Linked DNA regions of Homo sapiens: regions 1, 2 and 4 are each linked to region 3. The links are contacts of gene promoters, found by promoter capture Hi-C in blood cells and fetal thymus (Javierre and others, 2016). All regions are on one chromosome and are shown on one strand. The core of a region is centred on a gene start or on the middle of the fragment in contact, and the rest is flanking DNA. Distances in the headings are between cores, read along the strand shown.

Region 1 (5,867 bases), core at 2,013-4,512, 520 kb before region 3:
CTCCATGAGATGATCTTCTCATGGATCAGATGTCTTGGTTCTTTGACATCCTCTCCTCAGGAATTTGCCCTTCACCCTGCTTCTACTGTCCACTTTCTTAGACATATACCAATATCACAATTCCACACCTTCCATTTCAACATTATACTCTCTGCTCGCCACCTCCATTTTTAGCTCATAAATTCTGGCACCCCAAGTTAAACAATTCTCCTATTTTTGAACTTGTAGGTTTAATGGGACCTACAACCCATTAATTTAATCATATTTTTTCCTGTGTCATACAATGCTTTTGTTCACATTTTGACCCTTACCATGTTCAAAGTCCACAATCAAGTGTTATGATCACTCCCTGGTATACATTCCCACTTCCCTTACTAAATAATTGTGTGGCACAATCTAAAGCCTTGCTAAACACAACTCTCTGCCCACTTCACACCAACACCTACACATCTGAATAACGCTGAAGAAAAGCACACTGCCATGCTACCTGGTCTCACTGTGAATTCATGACCACCACCCTCAATGAGGCCCTTAACACTACTGCATTTCCCTCATCCACTGCCTCTCAAGTCATGCTTTTCTTTTCCTAGTCCACTCACTCGCTAACTCTTCTTTTAGATGACTCTTTCATACCTTCTCTTCTTTCCTTAAAATGCCGACATCTCCTTCCCATCCTCACTTTTAGCTTCACACTTCACTGAGGAAGAGAACTTCTATAAGCTCTCACCACCATATGCTGTGTCCCCCACTCCATCCTCAACCCTGCCTGTTAGAATGAATAACTTGTTGGTGCTCCTCTTAAGGCCAATAACTCTCCTCTTCTCTAAATCTTATCCCAGACTCAGAGTGTTGAACCAGCAGTTCTCCCCTCTTTGGCATCATTAACGGTTCCCTCCCAATTGGATCATTCCCATCACTGTACAATTAGTTCTCTCATTAAAAATAAAAATAACCCTTGAGCCCCTCTCTGTCTACTGCTTCATTATTGGCTCCCTTTTGGAGCAAAGCTTCTCAAAAGAATTATCTTTTCTTCCTGTCCTCAATTTCTCTCCTCCCATTGTCTCTTGAACTCAATCAGGCATTTGTCCATGTCACTTAACTGTAATTACTCTTATCAAGGCCACCAGTGACTTCCACATTGCTAAATCAAATGGTCCAAGTCTCAGTCCTCAACTTAATTGACCTATAAGCAATATTTTGTAGACACAGTTGAAACAGTTTCTTCACTTGGCTTCTAGGACCACGCATCCTCTTGGTTCTCTCTTGCCTTATTGGTTGCTCCTCAGTCTTAGCTGCTTTTTCATTATCTCCCTTTCTCAAAATTTTATAGTTCCCCAGAGCTCAGCTTCCAGATATCCCAATTTCAGACTTATTGCTGCCAGAACTGTGAAAGAATAAATTTCTACTGTTTTAAGCTACACATTGATGGCAATTTATTTGGCGGCTCCAGGAAATTAATGCATACTTCAATAAAGCTGCTTAAAAAAAACAAACCTGTACTGGTTCTTCATCTTAAGTCATGTCAAAGTTCAAAGTCAAAGTCCTTTCTGTAGCCACTAAGACCCTGCACTATCTCCCTGGCCTTGCTTCCCACACACCTCTGCTCCGTCTGCTGCAGCCACACTGTCCTCCTTACTCTTCCTTAAATACTCCAAGCACACTTCTGCCTCAAGGCCTTTGCCCTAGGTGGTTCATCTGCCCAGAATACTCTTCCTGTAGATATCTGCATACCTCTCTCCTCACCTTCCTCAGGTGTTGACACAAATGTCACCTTCTCAATGAGGTCTTGACCCCTTCTTCAAAATAGCAGTTATCCACATTCTGTAGCCCCCTGGCCTGATTTATTATCCACCATTGTAGTTATAAGCATTGGACATACTTTGTTTTACTCATTCATTTTTTTTAGGATTACCTTTTCCCACCACAGGGAAAAGAAATTTGTCTTTCTCTTTGTTCACTGCTTTTTTTTTAATTTGGACAAATTTATGGCGTACATGTGAAATTTTATTACATATATATAATGCATAGTGACCAAGTCAAGGTATTTAGGGTGGCCATCACCTGAGTATAATACGTTTTTATTAACTATAGTCTCCCTACTCTGCTATCAAACATTAAATTTATTATTTCTATATAAGTGTACACTTGGGTGCTTTAGCCCACTTCTCTTCAACTTTGTCTACCCTCAACTTACCCTTCTTGTTATCTTTCTATTCTCTGTCTCCACATAATCAAATATTTCAGCTCCTACATTTAAGTGAGAATATGTGATATTTGTCTTTTTGTGTCTGGTTTATTTCACTTAAGGTAATGACCTCCAGTTCCATCAGTGTTCTGTACATGACATGATTTCATTCTTTTTTATGGCCGAATAGTACTCCATCATGTATATATACCACATTTTCCTTATCCATTCATCTGCTGATGGACACTTAGGTTGATTTCATATCTTTGCTATTGTAAATAGTGCTGCAATAAACATGTGAGTGCAGGTATCTCCTTGATATATTGATTTCTTTTCCTTTGGGTAGGTACCCAGTAGTGGGATTGCTGGGTCAATCTATTTTTAGTTTCCTGAGAAATCTCCATGCTGTTTTCCATAGTGGCTGTATTAGTTTACATTCCCACCAACAATGTGTAAGAATTCCTTTTTCTCCACATACTCAGCAGCATCCATTATTTTTTGTCATTTTAATAGTAGCCATTATAAAAAGGGGTATGGGGTATGATGATATCTCATTGTGGTTTTGATTTGCATTTCTCTGATAGTGATGTTGAACATTTTTTTCATATACCTGTTGAGCATTTGTATGCCTTATTTTAAGAAATAGCTATTCACATTCTTTGCTTGCTTTTTAATGGAGTTGTTTTTTCTGTTGAGTTGTTTGAGTTCTTTTTATATTCTGGATATTAGTACCCTGTCAGATGGGTAGTTTGCAAACATTTTCTCCCATTCAACAAGTTGTCCCTTCACTCTGTTTATTATTTATTTTGCTGGGCAAAAAGTTTTTAGTTTAATTAGGTCCCATTTGTCTATTTTTGGTTTTGTTGCCTGTGCTTTTGAGGTCTTAGTCATAAATTCTTTGCATAGACCAATGTCCTAGAGTTTACTCTAGGTTTTCTTCTAGTATTTTTATAGTTTCAGGTCTTATGTTTAAGGCTTTAATCCATTTTGAATTGATTTTTGTATATGGTGAGAGCTAGGAGTCCAGTTTCATTCTTCTGCATGTGGCTAATTTTACCAGCACAATTTATTGAAGAGAGTATCCTTTCTCCAATGTAAGTTCTTGTTGGCTTTGTAAAAGGTCAGTTGGCTGTAAATACATGGCTTTATTTCTCAGTTCTCCATTCTGTTCCATTTGTCTATGTGTCTATTTTTATACCAATACCATGCTGTTTTGGTTACTATAGCTGTTCACTGCTGTTTTTACATTGCCTGGAACAGAGTAGATAATGGATAAATATTTGTGGAAGGAAAAAAAGAAGGAAGGAAGGGAGGGAGGGAGGGAGGAAGGAAGGAAGGGAGATTCCCTATACTTTTTTTCAATCAAAATGCTGGGGCCATCTTGTTATTTGATATAGGGCTTTTGTTTTTATTGTTGTTTTTGTTGGTTTAACTTTTTATTATAGAAAGTTTCAAACATACAAAAGTAGAGAAAACATATAAAGAATCTAGTGTACCTCTCACCCTGATTAAACAGCTATCAATACAAGTATGGCAAATTTTGTTTCACCTATACCCCCACCCATTCCCTATACCTCCCACCAGATTATTTTGAAGCAAATTTCAAACATATTATTTTAATTTATAAGGATTTCAGTCTGTGCCTTCGAAAGATAAGGACTAAAAAGAACAAAAACAAACCCAAAAAATCAGGCAATCTCAGTACACACCTAAAATCCATTTATAATAATGCCTTAATATTATTCAGTAGTCAGTCTTCACATTTTCTCACTTGTCTTAGAAATGATTTTGATTTTGCTTTTTGTTTTACACTTTGATTGTTTGGATTGAGATACAAATAAGTATCATATATTCTAATTTATTGATATGTCTCTTTTATTCTGTAGGTTTCCCCTTCATTTTCTGCAAACTTAAAAAATTTTGTGATAAAACAAGCTCTGTAATTTTCCATAGTTGTACTGTAGTTTCCTATAGTCTTGATTTTGCTGACTGCATGGCTGCCCTAAAAGATCATTTAACATGTTTTCCTCTGGCCTGTATCACTTATGAACTGGTAATTACATCTAGATACTTAGTCACATTTTTCCCCCACCTCAGGCCTTTACGGGTGGTGTTTGTATTTCTAATAGGAGGGACAGTCTCTGTTGTTTTCTTTTTTGAGGGTGATGATCATTGTCCAAATCCACTACTTCAGTAGGTTTTGAAACATAACGATACTATAATTCTATCCCATTCTCTTTTTCTTTTTCTTTTCAGCGGAAATACTTTTGCAAAGAGAAGCCCCTCTGCCAACACACCATATCAAATATCTGGTTTTTCTAATCATTTAAGAAAGAGAGAACAAATGTTTTATTTACCTATTTTTAAATTAATAATGTGGGTTATTCCTAGCATCTTCCAAAGGGCACCAGTGAGTTGTTGTGGTTATTTTAGTATCATTATAAAAATGGATATGTGGTTTTAAAGTTTTTACTGTAATAATTATCTTTATTATCATTGCTTAAGTCATCCTGTCTTTTGGCCAGTGGAAACTTATTTAGATTGACATCTGAGTCCTAGTGACACAATTCTAATAATCTTTGATAGCTTCCTTATTCCTTTATATTTTTCCTTTTTAATAGCCATTCTAACTGGGGTACGATGATAACTCATTGTGGTTTTGATCTATACTTCTCTGATTGTTAGTGATGTTGGACATTTTCTTCATATACCTGTTGGCTGTTTGTATGTTTTCTTTTTAGAAACGTCTATTCACGTCCTTTGCTCACAAATAACTTAATGAAGTTATTTGTTTTTTTCCTGTTGAGTTGTTTGAGTTGAATATATTCTAGGCTCACCTTCCCTAGACCTGGATTCAGCCATTTCTCCAAAAAGCCCTATTTTTGTTTGTTGGCAATGGTATTTACCACAATCTGTGTACTAGTGGTGCCTTGCTGTCAGTTTGCAGCAAAGGATTAACTCAGCAGGCATGGGTTGCCCAAACCCTGTACATTCCACAGAAAGTTTAGCCCTTGACCAACTCCTGGGAGATAACTTTGAAGGCCTTGGGATGTCTTTCCTGGTAAGAATGTCTGTTTCTTTAGGACCTTGGAAGGTAGTCTATAGTACCATACCAGGTAGTCTATGCTAACAATGTGATTTTTGATAGATGCCTTGGGCCATGCAGTATCAGTTGACCTTTGGAAATTCATGCCCACATCACTAACCCCAGATTTAAAAAAAAAAAAAAAAAAAAAGGCTTCTGTGGTTGGCACTACCTTGTATGCGCTGCTACACATCATTGCTGGGAAAAATTAAGGCTGTCCATATGACTCCACTGGGACAGGAAAAATGGAAGCTTGTATCTTGTCTTTCTTGCAATCTGCCCTATGTGCCTTTTTCCATTGCTTATTTTAATCTGTATCTTTTCATTGTAATGGACTGTAACCATGAGTACAGCATATTTGCTGAGTTCTGCCAGTTTTTCTAGAGAATCACTGAACCTAAGTTTGGTCTTGGGGATGCCTGACTACAGTCAGAAATTCTGTCTGGATTTCTTCAGCAGGCAGAACTAGAAAATATGTTTTTAAGATGAAAAATGTCATGATTTCATGCCAAATGAAATACAGGTCTACAGGTTCCTACTTAAACTTATCAATCTTGCATCTATATCTCCTTTCAACCACACCAAAAATATATAGTT
Region 2 (6,853 bases), core at 1,927-4,426, 570 kb before region 3:
TACGAAGTATGACTCTGAAACAGATACCATTTTTCTCATGTAAGTTTGGTCCATCTTTTTTTTTCTCTTGCTACCTTTTGGGTTTGTTATCTTTCCCATCCTCCATACCTTCAAAACCATCCTCAATGAATTATAAGTTAAAAAAAAAACTAAATTAAACCAAGGAACTAAAAAAACTGGAACCCAGAAAACCAAGGAACTAAAAAAACTGGAGACTCTAGGCACCGTATACTGAAAACCAAAAACATTTTCAATCTTGAAGTCTTTTCATGTTGAATAAATTGTTTGATTAAGAAAATGCTTTAAAGAAAGGAAATGCAAGTATACAAATGCATTATGCCAAAACAAAACAAAACAAAATCTGAACTGGCAAGAACAGTGGACACTAGACACCACACTATCTAGAAATTTAAAAAGGTAAAAGCCTGGGAGAATGTGTTGAAAATTCCATGTACTTCCAGCAGATTTAATCCAAGAACCTGCAGTCTCAGGCTTCAAATCCAACTGCAGTGGTGCTGGGTGCTGAATTAGGTGATGCTTTGTGTGCCCCATCCTAAAGCTAGATCCTGCTCAACAGTGGGGGCAGCCCTTGCCTGAATTAGCTCTCTACCAAAGCATTCCCTAAAAAGGTCCATCCAAGGATAATGTGCAGAAAAAAAGAACATAAAAGTATATTTAGAGCTTGGTATCAAATATGAAAAAATACATTTAAAAGGGACAAAGGAAATAAATGAGTAACAATGGTTATCTCTGGGAAGATCATCATTCATTTATATTTTTTCTTTATAATTGTCTTTCTTTCTTTCTTTTAGAGACAGGGTCTGACTCTGTCACCCAGACTGGACTGCAATGGTGCCATCGTAGCTCACTGCAACCTTGAACTCCTAGGCTCAATGCTATCCTCCTGCCTCAGCTTCCCAAGTAGCTGGGACTGCAAGTGCATGCCACCATGCCCAGCTAATTTTTAATTTGTATTTTTTTTTTTAGAGACTGCATCTTGCTATGTTGCCCAGTCTGGTCTCAAACTCCTGGCCTCAAGCAATCCTCCAACCTCAGCCTCCCAAAGTGCTGGGATTACAAGTTTGAGCCACTGTGCCCAGCCTATAATTTTCTATACCCTCTAATATTTCTATAATATAGGAAAAGGTGCTGGACAAAAGCTGTGCCCATGCCAAAATTTACTCATTGTGAATTTGTCCTCCAGTCTCTAGGACATCCCTGCAGAAAGGAGAGAAGCAAGGAGAAGGAGTGACAGGTGTTTTGTCAGGCCTGTATCTTCAGCCAGATACAAAGCCCCCACATGTACACCTGCTCTCATTATGTCTCATTCGTGAGCAGTTAATCAAGTTAATTATGAGCAGTTGAGCCCTGGGAGCTTTTACTGACAGTGCAACCTATAATTTCTCTGAAAGTTACAGAGCCAGAGATGAAGGTTACTGCTCTTTTAGGAGCCCTGTCTCCAGTTTTTGCTTTTGTTTCTGTTTTTATTTCATGGTTAGCATCCTTTGGAGACCAGAAGAGCATTGACAGCCCCCCAGATGAGCAGCAGAGCAATTCTTATACTAGTGGTCAAGCAGCTTCCTACAGCCAAAAGGCTATAGGAAGAAAGGGTAACTGGCTGCCCTACAGTTTACACGATGAAGCTGCCTTGGGCTCTGGGTCTTGGTGATTTAGCCAGAAGATTGTTTCTCAGAGCTCAGCCCTACACATTCTCCTAAAGGCCTTCTTCCTGGCATAGGTCAAAGACAGAACCTGAGAGAGGGAAATGAGCCAGAACAAATATGTCATCTGATGACCTCACCCCCAGCAAATGGGCAGGGAAGAGAGCTAGAATGAGAAGGCCAGAACATGGAGCACCATGAAAAGAAACTGCTCAAGCAAGAGAAGTGGCATGTGGGCTTTAAAGACCAGGGTTAGAAAACAGCAGCCCTGACCTTTGTGTTGAAGTAGCGGGGCGAGGATCTCTCATAGAAGTGTTAATTCTGTACTCCTTCCCCAATTCTGAGTAGGTGCCTTTTACATAGAGATGATCAATGTGTACTTGTCTAATTAATTACAAACTGCCCCCAGTGTATTCATCTTACCTTTTCGTCATCTCTCCTTTTCTTTTCCCTGAATTCATTCATTTATTCCACACATTTATTGAATACTTACTATATTCTAGACACTATGCTATCTAGAAATTAAAAACGAATATGAATTCAAAGATGAATGAATCACAGCCCCTTATGTCAAATAGCTTACATTTGAGTTGTCTCCATGTGTGTAGAGAGGGAGGGAGGGAGGCAAATATGTGGTCTTTATGATGGTGTGACAGGGCCTGTATTAGGACATGTACCAAATATGGTAGGAAAATTAAGTGGGGGAGGGTCAATTAGTTATCAGTAGTCCTGGTCAGAGATATCTTCATGAAAAGGTGACCCCTGAGCTAAGCTTTAACATCATCTGGACAGAATTTCTAGGGGCAGAAAGGGAGCAGGAGGTAGTACAGATGCACAAGCAATAGGCAGAGGTGAGAATAGGAACTGCTGCCCAGAGCATAGGTTTACAAAAGGCAGAGTCAGCAATAAGGCTGGAAAGGTAGGCTGAGGTTGAACCAAGGGAAACCAGGATAGCAGATTTGGATGTAATTCCACCGGCAATGTACCATCCATGAGAATTTCTAAGTAGAACAAGATCAGACCTGTGTCCCAACCAAGTTATTCTGGCCACAGGGTGTAGGATGAATTGATGGAGACAGAGACAACAGATTGAGGTCTCTTCCATGGGAGAGCTCATTACAAGAGCTCAAGAAGTAACAAGCACCTAACAAGGGGCAGCACGAAGAGAATGCTAACATCAATTGAGAAAGACATTGCAAGGAGTCACAAGAGGTAGAATTCACATGTATATTGCAAGCAGGAGGAATCAACCAGACATCAGGTTGAGTTACTAAAGATCTGAGAGCACATTCAAACAATGTCTAGATGGTACTCAGAAATTTATCACTTAACTTTGGCAAAGCATCAGGTAATAACCTTGAACATCTAAGATAAACAGATTGGAATGAGTGTTAACTTGGGATCTCATAGATGTCAAAGTCACTCAAAGGCTGTGTGGCATGTGGAAGTCACTTCACCACTCTAAGCCTCAATTTCCTTTTCTGCAATATGTGGATAATCATGGAATCTATTTCATAGGGTTGTTGTGAAGGGGAGATAAGATAACCCTTGTGGAGTGTTTAGCAGAAAGCTGGATGTAGCTTGCAATGAATGTCACCTATTATTACTACTATTATTATTATTAGCACAGGAGGGAAGATGCACGCTGAATAATGTTGGCCTTCACTTAAACTACCATCAGGAAAAAACTCAGCCACATTTTCCAAGAACACTTGTGGTGCTCTTCAGTGGTTTGCATAACACGTACCTGGTTGAAAATCACACCTTATACTTAATTAAAAAAAAAAGTAATAGTCATCCAAATCTCCAGTGGTTTCCCCCAATTTAGACAAAAATCTAAAGTCCTTATGGAGGCCCTGTAAATCCTGTATGATCTGGCCCTACCTCCCTCTCTAATATTCTCTCTACTTTCCCCCTCACTCACTTTACTCCAGCCATGTGACTTACTTTGCTTTTCCTCAAACATACCTGATATGCTCCCACCTCAGAGCTTTTGCACTTGCTATTCTTTCTGCCTGGAATGCTCTTCTCCAGATATCTTCATGGTTTGCTTGCTCTCTTCCTTCTAGTCGTTGCTCAAATTTCATTTCTTCATATAGGGCCTTTAATAACCACCCTAAAATTGTACCCTCTAACTGTTGCTATTCCCTTATCTTACATTATTTTTCTTCATTGGACTTATTGTCCAAAAAGATATTCTGACATCTTGTTATATACATAATAGTTTATTTATTTATTACCTGGGTTTTTTTCCACTATAAGCTTTTTTCTATTCAACCTATTGTGCTTAAAATAGAGGCTGGTATTCAGTGAGCTCTTAATAAATATCTATTGAATAAATGAACCACTTGCTACTGGAATCACTCCCCTCTCTTGGTTTTCCTGCCTTTCTTCCTACTTTTTCACATGTTCTTCTCAGTCATCTTTACTGGGTCTTCCTTCTCTGGCTTCTAAACGCTAGTGTTCCTCAGGACTCCATCCTGGATCCTTTTTTTCTCTCTCTTCACTCTCTCCTTAGATGATCTCATCTAGTTCATGAATTTAAATACCATCTTTATGTGGCTTACTTCTGGATTCTTTCTCAAGCCCAGAACTCCAGACTTACATGGTCAATTGCCTACTTGACATCTCCACTTGAATATATAGTAGGCATCTCAAAATGAACATGTCCATAATAGAACTCTTGATCCACCCCCTCCACATATTTCAACCCAAACCTGCCACCCTTTAGAATTTCTGAATAGAAAAAAATCAATCTGGTTGGAAAATGGGGAAAGCTGTTCTGTTTATGTAGGACTTAAGTAAAATAGAAAAAAAATCAATTTTATCAAAGAAGGAGAGGAGCAGTGGCTCACACCTGTAATCCCAGCACTTTGAGAGGCTGAGACAGGCAGATCACTTGAGCCCAGAAGTATGAGACCAGTCTGGGCAACATGGCAAAACCCCGTCTCTACAAAAAATACAAAAATTAGCTGGGCATGGTGGCGCACACCTGTAGTCCCAGCTACTCGGGAGGCTGAGGTGGGAGGATCACTTGAGCCCATGGGACTGAGGCTGCAGTTACCTGTGATTGCACCACTGCACTCGAACCTGGTTGACAGAATGAGATCCTGTCTCAAAAAAAAAAAAAAAAAATGGACCTATGAGGAGAGGAGCAGATAACAGAAATTATTGGGAGCTTTGGACCTTGGACCCTCCTTGGCATTAGCACTGTCTCCCTCTGCCCCAAAGTCCTCCCTATCTTAGTAAAAGCACTAAGTGCCCATGGGTTACTCAAGCCAAAATCCTAGGACTCCTCCTTTTTTCTTACTCCTACAACCAATCCATTAGCTAGTTCTATTTTTCCCAAAATACAATTTGAGCCCAGCCTTTCCTTTCTGTTCGAGGTTGCCATCATCACCCACATGGACTCCTGAAGGAGCCTTCTAACTGGTCTCACCATGCCCATTCTTAATGCTTTGAACCCTTTCTCCAAATAGAAAACATGACATGTTTTTTAAAAACCCTTAAATAGAGTAGATCTCAAGTGTTCTCACCACAAAAAAGTATAAGTATGTGAAGTACTGCATATGTTAAGTCATTCGATTTAGCCATTCCACAACATATACATATTTTGAAATATGTTGTACACAATAAATATATACTATTTGTATCTGTCAATTAAAAATAAATAAATAAATATAAAATAACCCCCCTAAATGAACAACAATTGTACTTAGAGCAATACTCGAACCCCTTACAATGGTCATGGTCAAGCCGAAATCCCTGTTGATCACTCCAACCTCAGCAGGCACCATTCTTCACCTGACTAGATACAGTACAGCAACACTAACTAGTCTTCCATCTGTTCTGAAGAGACACCCAATTCTTTATCACCTGAGGCTTTTACACATACTGTTCCCTCTGTCTAGAACTCTCTTCTTTCAATTCTTCACATGACTAGCTCTATTCCGTCCATCCTTTCCCATTATAAAAGCCACCTGCTCCTCATAGAGGTTTGCCCTGTTCACCCATCTAAATATTTGGTAGTTAAATCTAGATATGGTTTTAAAAATGTTAAACTATGAAAAAGCCATCTTGCCCAAGGTGGAGTAACAGGAAATGAATGTATCCAGTAGCTTGAAACAAAACTGCAATTACTTTTGCACCAACCTAATAAAAAAACTGGTCAAAATATATGAAACAATGTTTCCAAACACTAGACACTGGGGAGTAGAGATGAGTAACCCCTGAAAGAACCACAGCAAACAAGGTGAGCTCTGTGATTGCCACAGGTAGCTGCCTGGAGAGAGTACCGGAATGCAGTATCACAATGGGTTACCTAGGCAGAGCCCAGTGGAGTCTCCTTGAGTTGAGGAGATGGAGGTGGGTGTCAAGGTGCGCCACAGTGGATAGAGTTTGCAGGGCAGAGTACCAGAAACAAGGGAACAGCACAATCACCAAAAAAAAGGCTCTGGAGATATGGTAAGGATCTCCCTTGAAGCCTGAGCTGAATACTGATCAGTGCATGTGTGGGAAAAAACTACACAGAGCCAAAGAAAGAACAACCTGAAAGGATTACAAGTAACCATCCTTGGAATTCACATAGGACTAGAAATAGTTTATATTCCCATCAGCCAAAGTGGAATTTGGCTCCAAATTTTATGGAATATCAAGTACAGTACTCAGAAAGATGTTATATCAGTAGAGGAGAAAATTAGCCTTAAAGATTGCTCTGATCTCAAATAACAAAGCAGAAAAGTAAGCCTAAAAAGAGTGAAAACCAGACTCAAACTGTTTCCAAGTAACAGAACTGTGTCCCAAAACAAAGCCCAAAAATGTTTATAAGAATATAGAAATATGCAGCATTAAACAGGGTAAAATTTACAATGACCAGCATCCAATCAAATATTACCAAGCATACAAAAGAAGCAGGACAACATAATCCATAAGAAGAAAAATCAATCAGTAGAAACAGACCCAGAAATGAAACAGATAATACAATGAGTAGACAAGAATTAATGGTTATCATAATTATATTACATGTTGCAACTGTATTCCATGTTAAACAACGTAAAGGAAGGATAGACTATGTTAAGTAGAGATATGCTTAAAGATTTTTAGATTTTTTAAAACGACCCAATCAACTTCTAGAGATGAAAATAAACAATCTGATATGAAAAATACACTGGATGGAATTAATGCAGATTAGA
Region 3 (6,393 bases), core at 3,807-6,306:
TCAACTTCATAAAAGGCACTGTTGACAGATTATAGCAAAATTCACACATCGCATTTTAGACTATTTAGCTCTTTAAGCTCTAAGTGCCTTGTGTGGAGAATTTTGCCATTTCACACTGACCCATCAAAACAAAGAGTCATAAAGAGATTTCTTTGAAATCATTTAGCCAAATAGTCACTGTCTAGAAACTATTAGGCAAGGCACCACAGGAGACCAAAGAAGGGGAGGGGGACACTCAGGTAAACTCTCTCCCTCCGTGAGTTTATAATCTGGTTGAAAAGGCAGACATAAACAAATGTGTATGTCCAGCATAGACCAGAGTGATAGAGGAACTGTAAGGAGCTTTATAATATATTCAAAACCAGGATAGAAGGTGGGAGGACATATTAAAGGGAGAGGAGACACTGACTGCAAAAAACACAGAACTGGGTGAGCCTAAGACTTGATGAACAGTACCAAGAAACCTGATTTGCTGGAAAGAAGGGCTTTCCTACGGGAGGAGCCTGGGGTTGGGAGTGGAGAGGGCTCCAACCTAAGTTAAGGAGTCTAGATTGTAATTTGTGGGCCAACCTTAGGCACTGTTTTCTAAGAACCACCTGCCTGGAGAGCTTGATAAAATGCTGATTTGGGTTAAAATGTTGAAACAGGCTTCACTCCCAACCCAAATAACTGCAATTTTTTTTTGTTTTTTTTTTTTGAGACGGAGTCTTGCTCTGTCACCCAGGCTGGAGTGCAGTGGTGCGATCTCAGCTCACTGCAACCTCCAACTCCCAAGTTCAAGCGATTCTCTTGCCTCAGCCTCCCGAGTAGCTGGGATTACTGGTGTGTGCCACCACGCCCAGCTGATTTTTGTATTTTTAGTAGAGACTGGGTTTCATCATGTTGGCCAAGCTGGTCTTGAACTCCTGACCTTGTGATCCACCCACCTCGGCCTCCCAAAGTGCTGGGATTACAGGCGTGAGACACCGCACCTGGCCTGCAATATTTTTTTTAAGACAGTGTCTCACTCTGTCACCCAGGCAGCCACCCAGTGCAGTGGCACAATCATGGCTCATTGTGGCCTCAACCTCCAGGGCTCATGTGATCCTCCCATCTCATCCTCCTGAGTAGCTGGAACTATAGATGTGCATCACCACACCCGGCTAATATTTTTTTATTTTTTGTAGACATGGAGTTTCACTGTGTTGCCCTGGCTGGTCTCAAAATCCTAGACTCAAGTGATCCTCCCACCTCGGCCTTCCAAAGTGTTGGGATTACAGGCATGAGCCACCAAGCTGTCCTCTATCTGCATTTTATTATTTAGAAACAGAATCAAGCTCTGTCACCCAGGCTGGAGTGCAATGGCGTGATCTCAGCTCACTGCAACCTCTGCCTCCCAGGCTCAACTGATGCTCTCAACTCAGCCTCCCAAATAGCTGGGACTACGGTCGTACACCACCATACCCAGTTAATTTTTGTATTTTTAGTAGAGGTGGGTTTCACCATATTGGCCAGGCTGGTCTCAAACTCCTGACCTCAGGTGATCCGCTCACCTCGACCTCCCAAAGTGCTGGGATTACAGGCTGGAGCCTCCGCACCCGCCTCTATATGCATTTTAAACAAACATCCCAGGTAGCTCTTACGCAGCTATAGGCAGCTGGGTATTGTTAAAGGTTTCTGGCCAGAGGGCAATGCTGTGACAGGTATTTTTGTTAATCTATTTGGGTAGGCAAGGTGGATGGGGCAGACAGGAAGACTATGTAAGAGCTGTTCTAGTACTTTTAGGCATGAGATGATAAGCTTAAGGATGAGGTGGCAGGAATGAAGAGGAAGGGGCAAGGACAGAGGTAAAGAAGGCAACAAAAAACTGTCAGGACTTGGGAACTGAGGGATTTGGGGAGGCAGTGAGAACCAACTGGGTTTACTGAGAAAACAATAATTCCACTAACAGAAATGCAGAAGATCAAAAGCAGCTTGTTTCAGGAGGAAGAAGGACTGGATTTAAACATGTTGAATTTGAAGTGGTGGCAAAGTAACGAAGCAAAAATGAACAGCAAGCAGAAATATAGAGAACTTTGAAGAGGTCAGAAATGGACACACATCTGGAAGTGAGTCCTAGTAAGGACTAGAAGAGAATGTATACAACGAGAGTGTATACAATCTTCTGAGGATCGCTGCAGGGAACAAAAGAGTAGGAAACTGACTTTGAGGGATACTTATTTTAGTGGGTCAGAGAAAAAAAACCAAGAGTGACCAGAACAGAAAGGGGCACATCACAAGAAAAGAATGCCAAAATGGAAGGGAGGCTAATAGTAAGAGGTCTTGGTGCAAATAATCAAACCCCAAGATTTCCCTTCAGACTCACTGGCTCTGCAGCCAAACACGGTCCCACTATAAGCTAACATCAGCAACACTGTCCTACAGACATTTACTATACAAAAATGCCACAAAGAAAGAGACATACAAAAGAAACAGCCCAGTGGTAAGTACGTTTGAAGCTCACAACATATCTCTAAGTTACAGAGGACAGGTATTTTACACATGAGAAATGGTCCCAAACCTAGGTCTTTTTGTTCCTTCTGAACGATTTCACCCCCTGTCAATGAGAAGAAATGCAGAGCACCCTGGAGGTCAGGAGGAGGAAAAGAAAAAAGCAGAAACTTTGACCTGCTAATTGATGGAATCAAGTCAGACAAATTCTAATGTGGCCACTTCTTTTCACTGCCATCATGGAAACCTAAAGCCCTGGGTAGGTTCCTTGCCACTGCCCTGTCTATTTCTAGAAACATGAAAGACCTGGGCTAATGTCCTACCTGACAGCCATTAGCTGACTGGTCACAGGGTAAGTCCCTGCACCTCTGAGTCTGTGTTTCCTCACTTCCTAAATGGGGACAATAATACCAGCAACTCCCTAGTCACCTCACAAATTTAAATATGATTATGTATTGGTCAATCTCCCTCCTCCCCCATTAGAATCATCAGGGAGTGGTTTGTGGGGAGGCGGGAAGGGGTGTTGTCTTAAAATAAAATGTGCTTTCAATAAAATACCTTGGCATCCCATTTTTAAAGCCTTCTTAGGTGACTATGATTTGCAGTCAAAGTTGAGCACCACTGATGGAGTGGAGTGAGTTTGTTTTGAGCAAACGCCTAAAGGTGTGGAATGGGCTGGGAATAAGAAAATGGTGAACTGGGGTGTATCTGCCTTAGCTAAAAGAGGGCACTGCTTCTGTTTTTGCTCAAAGAGTGCAGGCCCACAGTGTCACTGGATCTTCCCATTTTTCAAGAAAAGTTAGAGATTTACATTTTAAAGTAAAATCTAAATTTTAAAATGTTGGTAACAAATTCAAATTTATTAAAAACAAAACAGAACTTTGTGTAGGCCAAACCGGTCTGTGGGACATATTCAGCTGATGGGCCACCAGCCTGTGATAGGTGGTTTGAAGAAAGATGAACCTGAGATGAAACTAGGGGTTTGCCCGCTGGCTTTAAACAAGTTACTTAACCTAGGTAGGCCTCAAGTTCTTCATCTGCAGAATGGGGTATATAATACCTACTTCAAAGAATTAATAGAAGAGACAACGAATGGAAGGCAAATGGAAAAGTGATTAATCAAGCATCAGTTTCTTGCATCCTGTCTTTATCAACAATGTTGTACTTTCAGAGTTGAACTCAAATGTGAGAGCTTTGTCAAAAAGACCCTCCATCAAATCAGGCTCCATTCCTGGACTCTGTGTGTCTCCGGCCTCCCAAGCTGGGTGTCTGTGACCCCATCCCTGAGACAGCAGAGATCCATCAGAGTTGTAAGTGTGGCCCTGCACCAGAAGGTGGGCAAAGGGCGAGGAAGAGATACACCTTCAATCAGCTCTGCATCTTACTGAGGAGCCACTATGCCTGTGGAGGCCTAAAGACTGCAGTAATCATTGTAATCGTCCATGATATTGTACGTTAGCGTCTTGCTGCAGGAGGGAAAAGCTTAATTCAGGAAGGGTAAGAGAGTGAGAAACCCTGAAGTCACATATTAAAGTGCTTAAGTACCTAACAATCTCTATGCCCTGTAAAACCTTTAAGAATAGGAGCCCAGGCAGGGCGCGGTGGTTCACGCCTGTAATCCCAGCACTTTGGGAGGCTGAGATGGGTGGATCACGTGAGGTCAGGAGTTTGAGACCAGCCTGGCCAACATGGTGAAACCCCGCCTCTACTAAAAATACAAAAATTAGCCGGGTGTGGTGGCACGCACCTGTAATCCCAGCTACTCGGTAGGCTGAGGCACGAGAATCGCTTGAACCTGGGAGGCAGAGGTTGCAGTAAGCTGAGATAGCGCCACTGCACTCCAGCCTGGGCCACAAAGTGAGATTCTGTCTCAAAGGGAAAAAAAAAAAAAAAGAGAATAGGAGCACAGTTAATAGAGACACTGGGCCCCAAGACGACTGAGAACCACTCACGGATGAGAAGTCCTCGGGCTGCTGGCAGAGAATTTACCCCAGGTGCGTGGCCCAGTGGCGGAGGCTTGTGGGAAATTCCTGGTACCCAGCTGCCCAACATCTGGGACGCTGCAACGCCCACCTACCTGCCTGCGCGGCAGAGAAGCAACAGCCGTTCGAGCCACGCTCCACTTCCCGGGAAGAATTCTGGGGAGAGTGAAGGCTCGCTCTGTGGCCGCCCCGCCCACAGCCCGCCTGGGGAAGCCGCGGGCCCCAGCTCACCTGCAGGTTGCTCACGGAGAGCTGCAGCGGGCTCAGGTAGAAATAGGGCACGCCGCTGCCCGCGCCCGGGGGCCCGTCGCTGAGCGAGAGGACGTCGGCGAAGGGCCGGCCGCGCACCGCCTCCAGCGTGGAGATGGTGGCCAGAGCGCCCCAGTCGGAGACGTGCGTCACGAAGCGGGCCACGCGCGCCGCGTCCTCGCGGGGTGGTAGCGGCGGCAGCCGGGAGGCCTCGTCCCAGTCCCCGTGGTCCCGGCCGCCGCGACCCCGCGCGGGCGACACGAGCAGCGCCAACAGCGTCGACGCCAGCAGGGCGGCGAGCAGTGCGCGCGCGGACCCGCGGGATAGCCCGGCCATGGCGGTGTCTCCAGGAAGAGTCCCGGGCCCCAAGACCTGCAGGGACCCAGCCGGAGCTCGGCGCGCCCAGGCCCCGCCCCCTCCGCGAGGCGCCAATCAGAGCTAAGCACAATGCAGGGGGCGGGGTCCCTCTGCAGCTCCGCAACCTGCAGGAGAAGGGATTGGTTCATCTGCATTCCAATCGCTCTGCCTGCCCTCTTTAAGGATTGTGAATTTGTCCTAAACGGGATATTTGTTTTGTTTTGTTTGACAGGCGGAAAAAGAAAGGCTTGAAGAAATCAAGCAACTTGCCCAAATCGTACTGCTAGGAAAAGACCAGCCTCTTTACACAGGCACACACCCCCTCCTTTTAATACCTTTGGAGATGAATATCTGGCATCTGAGAGGAAATGCTGCATTTTCTACCCATGCGCCTCTTTTCTGTTGAATTTACCATCAGCTCCAAAGAACAGCGAGGGTCCCAGCGTTGTAGAAGCCCAGACTCAGGCTCGTGTACCCCATGTGTAGCTGATGCCAAACACTGACATATAGGTGCTTGGAGATAAAAGTTTATTCGATTTGGCCAAAGCGAGAAGGCGGGAGGGCAAGATCTCTCAAATCCGCCCTAACAAAAAGAAGAAGCAGAGAGTGTTTATGCGGCCAGCGAGTCAGGGAGGGGGAGTTTCAGGGAATCGAGGGAAAAAGTCTGTGTTTCTTCAGTCTCAGATAATTCCTTGAACAATCAGACTTCTGGGCGACAGAAGCTGGCCTCAAAGTACTTCAAAGGACTTATTCCTCCTGCAAACTTTTTCGTAACCCTGAAGTTATTATCTCCTCCTGCTTGATAAAGAAACAGTACATCAGCAGTTTATGATTATGTTGTAGGAACAAGGGATATTGGGCAAAAAGAGAGTTGTCAACATGTGCAAGCAAGGGCCTGATCAGAATTTTCATTATTTCAGTCACTAACAAATGCTGGGGTGCTGAAATCTCAAGGGGCCCACTTACACTAGTAGTAAAGTTAGGCAGAAGCCCGAAAGTTCAAGACCTTTAAAAAACTTTTTATTTACTTATTTTAAAATTTTTAATTTTTGTGGGTACATAGTAGGTGTATACATTTATGGGGTACATGAGATATTTTGCTACAGGCATACAATGCATAATAGTCATATCAGGGTAAATGGGGTATCCATTGCCTCAAGCATTTATCCTTTGTGTTACAAACAATCCAATTATACTTTTAGTTATTTTAAATGTACACTTAAATTATTATTGGCTATAGTCACCCTGTTGTGCTATGAAATACTAGGTCTTATTCTAACTATTTTTTGTACCCATTAACCATCCCCACTCCTCCCCTGCAAGTCCCCCCACTACC
Region 4 (6,728 bases), core at 3,289-5,788, 590 kb before region 3:
AATTATAATTAATGGCATTAATATCCATCTGGTTGCTTTGTGCAGAAATATGCCCTCTAATACAGTTTGGATTTGTGTCCCTGCCCAAATCTCACATCAAATTGGAAGAGTGGCCTGATGGGAGGTCACTGGATTATGGGGGTGGGTTTCCCCTGTGCTGTTCTCGTGGTAGGGAGTGAGTTCTCACGAGATCTGATGGTTTAAAAGTGTGTGGTACTTCCCCCTTCACTCTCTTTCTCTCCTGCTGCCATGTGAAGAAGGTGCTTGTTTCCCCTTTGCCTTCCACCATGATTGTAAGTTTCCTGAGTCTTCTCAGTCATGCCTCCTGTTAAACCTGTGGAACTGTGAGTCAATTAAACCTCCTTTCTTCACAAATTACCCAGTCTCAGACAGTTCTTTATAGCAGTGTGAGAGCGGACCAATACAACCTCACTCCCTATATCCAGTCACGCATTAAGTCACATCAACTTAATCTCTTAACATCTTTAATATTTCTTCCCTCCTCTTTAACCCCATTACTATTGCCTTTCCTTAGACTCTCTTCATTTCCTCCTCAAAATATTACAATAATCTTTTGTTTGGTCTCCCTGCCTTTAATCTGTCAACATCCAGTACACTCTTCTTGCTACAGTTCAGATGATCTTTCTAAACTGATTGTTATGGCTCTCTTTCTTAAGACCCTTCACTCATCCTCCATAGCCCTCAGGATAAAACCCAAAGTCCTTGGCAAGGTACTCCGTCATCTAGTTCCTCTTACCGCCTCAGCCTCACCTCTCACCTCTTGAAACACCTCTCTTTGAGCACCAAGCTCCAAGAATATCAAACAACTAATAGCTTCCCCAGTGGGATATCCTGTTTCATGCCTCCAGGTCTTTGCACATGATGTCTCCTGTTTCTGGGATGCTTTTTCCTCACTTCTTTGCTTGGGCAACTTTTTGCATCTTTTAAAACCCAGTTCAAGGGCTTCTTGTAAAGCCTTCTCTGACCAATAAGTTTATCACTTCCTCCTTTGTGCTATCAGTACACCCAGCATTTTCTTCTAAACATTTACTCTCACAGTCTTCCGAGTACTTCTTTTCATGCCTGTCAGGCCTGTCAGACTCGTCAGGTGTGGAAGGTATCTTCCCTTGCTGCCCTGGCTTGTGAAGCCCATAGGTACTCAACAAATATTTGATAAATAATGACAATGAAGCCAGGAAGTATCACTTCAGGAGGAAGTGACTTCCCTTCCAGTGGTGACCCAGCAAAGGGGACAGAGATGAAAAGGAAAATAAGTCTTTGAGAGAAATGGAGGATTTCAGATCAAATGCAGTAGACTAAGTTCAAAGCTTTGAAGGATAATCAAAAGAAGGAAAAAAAGTGGGGGCTAAAAAGCAGATGAGAAGTTTAAGTGGTAAAAAGATCCAACCTGATGCTTGGTGACCAAGAAAGAATGAGAAATTTCAGTGAATGAGAGACGAGGGGAGTGTTTGAGAAGCAAAGGTCCCACATGAACTCAATGATAAGATCTAGAAATTCCAAGCAAAGGGAACATAACTTTCTCAGTTGAATGGGAGAGTCAAGAGTTTCTAGCTTGATGTGAGGTTAGAAGCAGAAATAGAAATATGATGAGAGGCAGAAAAAACGAATATGAAGATATGATAAAGAAGTTCCAAATTGAATCCAGGAGACTGCTAAGTCAGCTTCAAGTAGCTTGGGGCAGAGACATGCAAAAAAGGACTACTTTCCATGGAGTCCTGTCCTTTATTAGTGCCAGTGTTCACAATGACATCCTGCAAAGCCAATTCACTCCCACAGCTAAAGCATAAACTTATTTATGAATATGCCTCTTTACTGAAGGACCCTTGACAAGGGCAAGATACATGTTTGTACTCATATCTTCTGACATCCAGACCAATGTCTCTATTCAATGAAAGGAACAATGAAAAAGTAGGTCCTAATTCCTGTTGGGGAAAAGGGTTTCTGCATTCTGTAACATCTGGAAGCGAATACAACAGAGTATTTGAGATTTATCAAATCTCAAAGCATTTTGGACCTACCCTGTGCTCAATAGCTACCTACAGAATAAATGAAGAAATGTATGAGCAAGTGAATGGCTATTAATATGGGAATTTCTAGGACTTTGCAGATGAAACTAGTTAAATGAGTCAGAAGTGTAGTAAAATAGTGTTGGCATCAAATAGGAATGGCTTTGAATCTCATCTGACCATACACTAATGATGGTTTCTTAAGCAATCTGAGACTCATTTTCCTCACCTATAGAATGAGCACCATAATGCTTACTCTCAGAGTTGTTAACAAACATTCTTTCATTGGGCACCTTCAGAGAGGAGACTCAGTAGAAGAGCACTGTGACCGGTAAAGAGTAGGTCTCAAATGCTAATTCTCCCTCACCTTGCCAAACTTTCCCCTCACCTCCCATCCTGAATCTTGATAACCATACATCACCACCAGGCTTGATTACATCCAGATTATGTAGATCAGCCCCATCAAAAGGCAAACAATTCCATCTGGAAGCTCATTGAAGAACCCTAGTTCCCATGCTTCCCTTCACCACCACTAAATGTTGATGTGGCTAATTCCATTCTCCCTCACTTATGAAGCTAGATTAGGAAAATAAATTTCTTTATAGTTTCTCCTTAAATTCTAGCGCATTAATTTTTTAACCTTGTAATTATTCTTCAAATAGTTACACCTCAATTTTTCAGGTAATAAGAATGGGACAAGAGAGGTGAAATGACTTCAATTAGCAGTGGTTGAGGCTGGATAACCACTCACAGGCACCATTCCCATACAAGGCTGTGTGCTTGACCACACCCCTTTTCTGCTCCACTGCTATTCTGGCACTGCTTGGGAAATCACATTTCTTAGCCTTTCTTTTTTTCTTCTTTCCAACTTTTGTTTTAGGTTCAAGGAGTACATGTGCAGGTCTGTTACATGGGTAAATTGTGTGTTGCAGTGGTTTGGTGTACAGACCATTTCATCACCCAGGTGGGTGCTCTACAAAAGTGTAGTGAGATTTATTTATTTTTTTAGAGAGGAAGTTTGGGGTTTTGTTCATTAGATAATTACTAAGAATAGCCTCCTTCCAAGCTCTGTTCTCTGTTAATGAGATTAGCCACTTGAGCAAGCCACTGGACTCTCTTAATCAATTATTAATAGAGGTTGGTCAATTCTCAGCTTCTATGACATAAACATAAACTCATGCTCCAAAAAAATAAAAATAAAAAATACATTCTCAGAAACATCTGCCTTTTTATAGCATGATACTTAAAGGCATGGATTTTGCAGTCAGTCCTAAGTAAGAATCCAGGTTCTACATGACCTCAAGCAAACTACTCAACTCTGATGAGTTTCAGTTTCCTCGCTGGCAAAACCAGAATAATAGTAACTACCTTATGGAGTTGTTTGAGGGTTAAGTAAGATTGTATCCTAAGTATTTAGAATAATACCTGGTATACAGTGAGCATTCAATAAATGTAGTTGCTAATGTTGCTGAGGCTATCAAGAGCAGTCTGATGACTTCTGTGAAGCTACAAACCTAGAGCTACGCAAGTACAGAGATCAAGGTGTCAGATGCCGAGTGTGTACAGGGCAAAAACTGCACAAGAATGCTAGAATACATCATTAGGAGTTCAATAGTGACAGTGCCTGGGTATGCTCCTCACTGCACATCACTTATGCACCTCCTGGAACTCAGAAGTAGAGAGTAACCCTGCACGTGTATGCACACATGCATACACATGTATACATGTACAGGCACAATGGGACTCTAAGCTAAAGGTAGATCTGGAGAAGACAGGACTAGAATTCCAAGTAAATGTGAGTTTATTGGATCTTTGAGAACCACAGAGTGAAGTGTTGGAGATAAAAGTAAAAATGCCAATCCCTGCTTCCACACTACAGGTTTCAAACTGTTAGATGAATGCCATCCAGTCCCCAAACTGCCCTGACCAAGTTTATCGGGACCCCCATTCCCACTGGAGGGTAGGGTCTAGAATTGCTCTTCTGGCCCTAACCCTGGATCCCTGGTGTCTAGGTGTCCTATACAACTGGGCAGCATCTCTTTCTCTCAACCTGTGTTTACCTTATTTAGAGACTGTTTTTCCACCTTGGTATCCTGATTTGCAATCCAGTTGCTCCACTGGGTCTGAGAACCCTTGCCCTGAACTCTGGCCTGCTTGTCTGGGGCCCTAATACCAGCCCCTTCTCCTGAGGGTTGGGTATTGTTTCCTATACCTTCATGCATGGCTGATCCAAATCTGAAACTGTGATGCTGCCATCCATCCAACTTCAAAAAATACCTCTCATGGGACCCACATAGATCAGGCCCCTCAGAACTGGTAGCTAATTTGGGTGGGGACTAGGATTGCCAGTCTCCTGTGGACACTGAAGTTTGACCTGGAGATACCCTCTCTCTGGCTCCCATTCCCGAGAGGTCTGCCCTGGGAGTAGGGGAGTATCCTGAGCTGGGGTCCTACCTCTTAGAGTTTTGTTTTCGTTTTTCAATTTTCCTACTTGTCAGATGCCAAAAACCAGGTACCAAGAACAAGTACTTCTTATGCTGGAGTCTATACAGGCTAATAAGAATATGTAACTATACATTTGAATTCCAGATAAATTAAACATTTTCAGCCTCTTTGTAGTGATAAGCTGTGCATTTGATCTAAGAAATCTGATTTACTCCCAAGGCTCCAACTACCAGTTATGTCTCACACCCCCAACTCCCTTAAGCCTCATCTGCATATTTAACAAACACTTTAAATTAAACATGTCTAAACCTCATTCATCGTCTCCTCTTTTCCCACCCTAGCTCTTTTTTTATAAACTCATCCTTTCTCTATCCCTTGCTCTTTTGCCAAAATACCACTTAATCTATTGCCCTAGATAGAAATCTTAGTTTTGATAATTTCCTCTCTGTCCCTGACCACATTCAGTTGGTCGCTAAGTCTAAATATCTCTCAACTTTGATCTTTCTCTATTCCCACTGTCACTCCCTTAAATCAAGTTTCTATTTCTGCTACTAGAAAATAGCTGTAAAATGCTTACTGTGTGTCAGGGATTGTGCTAAGCACTTTTCATGTAGTATCCTAATGAATTCTCTCAAAATCCTATAAAGTAGGCATTGTTATTACACCTGTTTTATAGACGAAGAGACTGATGCTCAGATAATGTATGTATGTATGTATCTTGCCTAACATTTCAAGGTTAGCAGGTGACAGTTTAGGTTTGAACCTAGACTGACTGGCTCCAAAGATCTTCACCATCATTTCACACAGGTCCTCACCACCACCTGGGTTTGAGAATAGCCAACTAAATGGTCTTCCTACTTCCAACCCAATCCACTCTCCATATTTTTCTAGAATACCGTTTTTAAAACACACATCAATCATGTCAGTTCCTGCTTTAAGGCCTCCATCGATTCCCCATTCCCTCCAGGACAAAATTGAAATACCCCAACATGGCATATAAAACTTTCTCCTTGACATGGCCCCCAGTATGCTCCAGCCATACTGAAATATTTCCAACCCTTTGACTATAAGTATGTTATCCCCTCCTCCTGGGCAAATATCAGGCCATGTAACTGAAGGAGTTCCTGGGAGGCAGACATAGAGAAGCACTGAAAAAGGGTCTTGCCCACACGTAAACAAGCACACGCTGGTACAACAGGAAGGCTGGGCCTCCAAGTCCAGGCACTGGTAACACCATATGGGACTTGAGTTTCAAACTCCTATAAAGAAATTTACAGAGGTGCAGAAAGAACCTGTGCTTCACCCTATAAACTAAAGCAGGTATTCTGGAAAACTAGAGAGAGGCACCTTAGGAGAGAGAGCAAGAGAGGAAAAGAAGTGAAGCAAGGTAAAGAATTATACTGGAGAGAGTATACCTGTAAAAATTAGACCTTCTAAATCTAAAAATAAAAAAAAAAAAAAATTTAAGAATTCCTCACTAAAAGAAGCACTAGAATTGAAGACCACAGGTGGTTTTCTGCTTTGCAGAGGAGGGAGTCATCATTCTTAGACCACCAGACTATTCTTTTAACTGTTTTGGTGCCCTGACCTCCAGGAAAACCACCCTTGACTATCTAATTTTAATTCGACCAAAAATGTATTTTGAAACACTACGCTAAGTTCTGGCAAAACAGATTTAAAAGACCAGTCCCTCATCTTGAGAAATTCAATATAAAGTTCATTTCTAACTATAAGGTCCCTGAGGGCAGGGGCCAGGATTTGGTTGACTTTGTATCCCTAGTATACAGCAAAGGCAAAGAATATAGGTGAAGCTAAAAAATGTGGAATGAATTAATGAATGAATGAAAACCGAACCTGTGAGTCTGAGGGGCCTTTCTTAGCAGGTGGTCCCCAGCTCAGAGAATGGATTCTGGCCAATAACTAGGAAACCTGCCTAAAGGTAGAGTGAAGAGTGACAGCTCTTCTCCCCCATCTCAGCCCCCATCTCAGCTAATCTCCAGGTGTAGGTACCTCGTCACCAGTCACCAGGCTAGGGAAGATCAGCTTCAAGTGCAGACAATGTCTCGCTGCATGTGCAAAAAAAGGTCCTGCCCCAATTCTCATGTAAAGAAAAAGATTCTATATATGATGAACTGTGTTCTTGCAAGAATAACAAACACAGACTCTAAGGCAATGCTATTCTTATTTTTAGCACTTTCATTTTTTTCAAAGCAAGTTCCTTTCCCCCACTAGTTGTAAGCTATTCCTGCCAGCATC

Evidence for each region. The method cuts DNA at HindIII sites, captures the fragments that hold promoters and counts their contacts. A CHiCAGO score of 5 or more calls a contact.
Region 1: a fragment that was not itself captured here is called in contact with the fragment with the promoter of CREG1 in region 3 in 1 of 17 cell types (fetal thymus); the score reaches 6.2 in fetal thymus.
Region 2: a contact is called between a fragment that was not itself captured here and the fragment with the promoter of CREG1 in region 3, in 1 of 17 cell types (fetal thymus). The highest score is 6.4, in fetal thymus.
Region 4: a fragment that was not itself captured here is called in contact with the fragment with the promoter of CREG1 in region 3 in 1 of 17 cell types (total B cells); the score reaches 5.4 in total B cells.

Annotation. Positions count from the first base shown.
Region 1 is chr1:167,035,089-167,040,955 of GRCh38, forward strand. No RefSeq gene overlaps it. Among named protein-coding and RNA genes, the nearest start is that of GPA33-AS1, 15 kb to the right of the region's middle. The HindIII fragment of the contact is 4,515 bases long and covers 1,006-5,520 here.
Region 2 is chr1:166,979,224-166,986,076 of GRCh38, forward strand. It overlaps a transcript of MAEL not described here. Among named protein-coding and RNA genes, the nearest start is that of MAEL, 6.6 kb to the right of the region's middle. The HindIII fragment of the contact is 1,490 bases long and covers 2,432-3,921 here.
Region 3 is chr1:167,548,706-167,555,098 of GRCh38, forward strand. It overlaps CREG1 (cellular repressor of E1A stimulated genes 1), which reads right to left and starts at 5,057. Exons shown (of 4, transcript NM_003851.3): 1 at 4,683-5,057. The coding sequence starts at 5,036. RefSeq lists a silencer at 4,746-5,195. The HindIII fragment of the contact is 3,087 bases long and covers 3,950-6,393 here.
Region 4 is chr1:166,958,221-166,964,948 of GRCh38, forward strand. All of the region lies in intron 1 of ILDR2 (immunoglobulin like domain containing receptor 2), which reads right to left. The region is part of intron 1 of LOC124904449 (a long non-coding RNA gene); the gene reads left to right. Among named protein-coding and RNA genes, the nearest start is that of ILDR2, 14 kb to the right of the region's middle. The HindIII fragment of the contact is 6,424 bases long and covers 1,327-6,728 here.